2 separate regions of the Homo sapiens genome follow, and region 1 is linked to region 2. Evidence: promoter capture Hi-C in human tissues and cell types (Jung and others, 2019). All regions are on one chromosome and are shown on one strand. The core of a region is centred on a gene start or on the middle of the fragment in contact, and the rest is flanking DNA. Distances in the headings are between cores, read along the strand shown. Region 1 has its middle 22 kb from the start of OR6B1. Region 2 holds the start of OR2F2 (olfactory receptor family 2 subfamily F member 2).

Region 1 (2,700 bases), core at 30-2,529, 43 kb before region 2:
CGAGACACCAAGGAATTTATTAAAAACATAGAGCTTTCAGAAACTGGGTGTCAAATAAAAATTCGTGAAAATGATCACTTAACATGAGGCACCACATTCAATACCTTGCACTGAGAGTTTTCAGTCATCCATCCCAAAATCATCAGACAATTAATGCTCAGCTATAAGACTGGGGAAAAAAATGCACAATGCTTAAAGGTGTAAGGTTGTTCATGGTGTGAAAAGATAAAAGGATTCAAAATATCACAAATAGGTAATTTATAATTAAGAGCAATATTTTGCTCGAATGTTCAGAGTTAACAGATTTTAATCCCCATAACTAAAAATAATAACATTGTTAATTATTTTGTTTCCTTTCTTGTAATTTTCTGTTGTGCTATATCTATTTGTACATCAATTTCTTTTTGTTCTGCCCCATTTTATACTAGCATAAAAAGTATTTGTTCTAGAGACATATGAGTCAGGAAATTTCCTAGTCATGAAAGGCCTGATACAAATATGCACTGGTGATGTTTACAATGTCCATCTATCCTGGTGTAAATGTACTTGTGGTACCCGAATGCTTTTTAGAGATTTACCAACAGCTGAAGAGACTATATTACATAATACCACTAAGTGTAAGACCCATCCGTTCTTCCTCTTCCTACTACTTTGTTCCCAACCTAGGGCTTCCTACACTGTAGTTCTCAGAATACAGTTCAGATTGAGGGGGGTTGCTAGGTTCATTTTGACAGGCAATGGAGTTTTCTAAAAAATTCATTATAAGTACCTTCTCTGGGGGTGTTATTTTAAATCTGAAGATTTGAACTATATTTCCTCCATATGGGAGCGTTTGCTTTTTTCCTTCATTTTCTCCTTCCCACCTAACATCATGATGGCTGCAGATATCTGCAAATCTTCAGGTTTAGAAGGGAATTATAACTCTCTATCATCTATCTATCTATCTATCTATCTATCTATCTATCTATCTATCTATCTATCTATCCACACACACACTTATATATATTACACACACATACACACTCTCCAATTGCTTATTGCTGACAGTATGAATACTGAAGGAAGTACTAGTTGTTTATGTTTACTATTTTGTTATAGGATTTAAACAAATGAACTAAACAACTATGTATATCACAAATAAAACTTAAAACATACCAAAATGGGATGCAGAATTTCTCGGAAATGTTTCTATGGTGACCTGCTCTTTAAAGGAATACCAGTGATTTGTCCTACATCGTATGCAAGACTTACTTCAAATACCCTTTCTTTAGTGCTGCCTACCAAGAGCTCAAACGCAACTGTGATGCAGCAAGTTTTCCAGATACTATCATTGGGGATGACGTGCACACAGGTGGCATCCATGTGGAAATTATGGTTAAGGTTGGATTCGTTTATACTTGACACTTCTATAACAAAGGCTTAAAGAAAAAAAGTGAACAAACATTGAACAAACAAAATGTATTTTTCTACCTTTCTCCAAAAACCTATGCAAAAGGAGAGTATTTATACTTCAAGCCATGTTGTTTTTGCTCAGAAACAATGTAGTCGATTTGGGTTTTTTCCCCACAAAAAATATATTTGATATTTTTTAAGGTGACAGGCATTAAAGTCAAAGCAAAACCAGTTTCTTCGTAAAATCGTTTCAAATAACTTACCCAACTCAATTGCCCAGTAAATCATTGAATGATTGGATTTGGTTTCAGAAAATTTTCTTCAATTTGTCTACTATTTTTGTGGAAAGTGGTGGGAAGAAAACAAGCAAGCTCCTGAAGCACTCTTGGCTAGGCAAAGTCCAAAGTTCATGGGGTGGAAAGAATATTAGGAGAATAATTAAGTTGTGAGTGCATTGATCTCTATATGACATTGGGATAACCTTATACTTACTGTTTTCTGAGAACATACTCTGTGCCAGTCATTATGCTAAATATACATCTATTCACATAATATAATATAGTGTAATCACAACATCATTTCAAACTTTTGCTTGTTGTCTATATTTTACAGGTGAGAAAAGGAGGTGATATGCCTAGAAAGTGGGAGTCAGTAGGAAACCAAGGATTATCTGTGAATCTGGTGTGCATCCATTGTGCCACTCCTATCTATAGCATGGCCTTGTGTCATGCACAATGATAGTCACTGTTTAGAGCAGGGTGTCCAATCTTTTTGCTTCCCTGGGCCTCAAAGGAAGAAGAATTGTCTTGGGCCACACATAAAATACACTAACAATGATGATAGCTGATGAGCTAAAAAGAAAATTGCAAAGATGATCTCATAATATTTTATGAAAGTTTATGAATTTGTGTTGGGCCACATTCAAAGCCATCCATGTAGCCCATGGACCATGGGTTGGATAAGCCTGGTTTAAAGGCCAAGGAGTAAATGAATGTAAAAATCAGATGAATCAAGAGGACTAATTGAGTTTCTACTTTTGATCTCATTCAGTTCAGAGACTGACTATTCCAAGAGTCACAGTGCACCGGAGTACGCTTATCCCCACTTGCCCATGAAGGTGACATTTGGCTTTCTAGCCTCATGGGGAACAGGTCAAAGAGGAGAAACACCAGCATCTTCCTCATTTAGGGATTCTTTTTGTTGTATATGATTAACTAGCCTCTTTTACACATTTGAAAAGGTAATCATGCTTTATGTCTGATACAGTAATGAGCACAACAGCTTACAGTGGGTACATGTTGGAGAGAC
Region 2 (2,700 bases), core at 1-2,500:
ACAGTAAGTAGTACTTTTTTTCAGTTTTTATCAGAACATAAGAGTGGAGATTGAGAAATTGTGGAAGGTTCTGTTACAGCAGTAGCTAACTCCACTAATCATACTGCTGGGATATAAAATTATCCCCACATCCCACACCCCATCCAACTCAACCACTCAGCCTCCTACATAACATCCCCAGTACATGTTACATCATCTCCTTCCCGGTTGCCAGAGCAACATAGTTTATCCCTGCCATATCTGAGCTGGGTGGAGAAAAATGAGGCAAAGCTTCTTCTTAAAGTAATGTTCATGAGTCAAGTTCCCAGCTTGGATGTTAACCCAGAGAATTTCTCTAATAGTTTATGCCAGGCCCCCTTCACCTCTTTATTCCTTAGACTATAAATCACAGGGTTCAGCAGAGGCATAACAATGGCATAGAAGACAGAGATCAGCTTCTCTTGAAGGACTGAGGGACCAGAGTGGGGCTGGATGTAAGTGAAAATCGTTGTGCCGTAGCACAGGGCAACCACCGTGAGGTGAGAGGCACACGTGTGGAAGGCTTTCTTTCTTCCTTCTCTGGACTGGATCTTTAGGATGGTGGAGATGATCCGGATGTAGGACAACAGAACCAGGCAGAAAGGTGTCATCAGAAGAACAATGCTAGACACCATGATGGCAGCCTCATTGGAGGAGGTGTCCACACAAGCCAGCCTGACCACAGCTAGGAGTTCACAGGATATGTGATCAATAAACTTGTTAGTGCACATGGGCAGCTGAAAGGTGATAGCAGTCTGCACAAGAGAGTTGATGGAGCCACTGACCCAGGATGTGATGGCCAACCTAGCACACAGCCCTCCATGCATGATGGCCGAGTATCGCAGGCGGTCAGACACAGCCACATGGCGGTCATAGGCCATCACTGCCAGGAGAACAAACTCAATCCCACCCAAGGCCAGGGAGAAAAATAACTGGGCTGCACAGCTCTGGAATGGGATGGCTTTATGTTCTGCAAGAAAATGTGCCAGCAGCTGGGGGACTACGCTTGTGGCATAGGAGACATCGACAAGGGAGAGGTTGGTGAGAAAGAAATACATGGGAGTGTGGAGTCGGCTGTCCAGTCTGATCAGAAGGACAATGAGACAGTTCCCCAGCACTGTCATGAGGTATGTGACCAAGAACAGGGAAAACAGGGATATCTGAGTGCACCAGTCACTGGATAAGCCAAGGAGAATAAATTCTCTCACCCACGTCTGGTTATCTATTTCCATTTAAAAATGTGAGGAATATTAATCTGTAGAAAGAGTCAGAAAAAAACAGAAGCTGTTGAATCAAAGAATCATAAGAATAACTTCTTAGGAATGCATACTGTATACGACATTCCAGCCTTGGCCAAATATTTTAGATAATTCACAAGGCCAAGATGACAGGCTTGTTTCCAACATACACTATATTTACTTTGCATTAGAGAGACAGTAGTGCTTTCATAAGGACATGATGTGGACTCAAATAAGCCAGTTAAAGCCTGTAGATAATGCAGTGCAATTTTTGGAAGCTTTACCTCTTTACTAGCTTACCTCAGTATCCAGGGCAGGGAGTTTGTTTTCTGATGATGTCAGCAAAAAGGAAGAATAGAAAGTCCCAGGCTCTACTCTTCTCCACAGAACATTCAACTAGCAACTATCCCCAGACCAGAATATCTCTTTTAAAACTCCACTACTTGGACACTAACATGAGACAACCACAAGGTACGTGGAATGAAAATTGAATTAGAAGGCTAAGAAGCATAGTTTCACTTCAACCCTGCCACCTTGCCTCCTGCCAAAGTCAACACAACACCAGACAAAGAGGGTTTTCCTGGGCCCATGGTTTTTACAGGAGGAAAGGAAAACTAGAGGCAGTCATTCAGCATCTCTAGTTTTCCAAGATGCTTCTCAGAAATCCCACTCTGGGCTTATCTCATGGAGAACACTGGGGGTAACAGCATAGCTAGACTACCTGGTGTCAAGTAAAAACAAAGAAAGGAGGCAGAGGTCTTAGTGACCAGCACACAGATCATGGCATTACCTCTGTGTTCTTGCTAGCTGTGGTGCCCAATCTGAGACACTAGTCAACTTCATAGTTCATTTACAAAGCTAAGCTGGTCATCTTCAGAAGCATGGTGGGAAGTACAACCTAGCTTGAGGCCTTAGATAGCTAGTCCCCATGTCCAGTCTCAGAGCCCACACCAGTGACCTCTGCCAAGACAAGGAGATACACACCTCCACCCATTTCAGAAACACACATGAGGTAGACCTGCTTAACCCAGGAAGTCAATCCATGGCTCTACTCAGCTAAAAGGCCCCATCAAGGACATCTACATGCCTTTCAGAGAAGCATGAGGGCTAGAACTGTTTGACCTGGGAAGTCAAACTCAATTCAGCCAAAAGCCCATCTTAAAGGGAAGAAACCCTACAAGGAAGCTCCACCTTAACAGGGAAGCAACCATCAATTGTGTTTTTCTGAGTGTAGCCTCTGGCCTCAATCATTCTAAGCAGCAACTTCTCCTAACTTTGGAGTTCAGCCTACAGCCCTGCCCAACTGCAAATCCCAGAAAGCATAATTTTCCAGCCAGGGAATAAATTCTGTGACTAGTCTGACCAGAAGCCATTGCAGTACGCAGTCAGTAGCTCTGTGTGATAACAGAGCTCAGCCAGTGGTCTTGCCAGACAGCAGGGCCCA

The links. The method cuts DNA at HindIII sites, captures the fragments that hold promoters and counts their contacts. A contact is called where the count stands out against the background at its distance.
Region 1: a fragment that was not itself captured here is called in contact with the fragment with the promoter of OR2F2 in region 2 in 1 of the 25 tissues and cell types used here (hippocampus).

Annotation. Positions count from the first base shown.
Region 1 is chr7:143,976,587-143,979,286 of GRCh38, reverse strand. It overlaps the pseudogene CAPZA1P5. Among named protein-coding and RNA genes, the nearest start is that of OR6B1, 22 kb to the left of the region's middle. The HindIII fragment of the contact is 4,953 bases long and covers 1-2,700 here.
Region 2 is chr7:143,933,783-143,936,482 of GRCh38, reverse strand. OR2F2 (olfactory receptor family 2 subfamily F member 2) reads right to left here and starts at 1,250. Exons shown (of 1, transcript NM_001004685.1): 1 at 297-1,250. The coding sequence starts at 1,250. The coding sequence ends at 297. RefSeq lists an enhancer at 402-901. The HindIII fragment of the contact is 4,199 bases long and covers 1-2,700 here.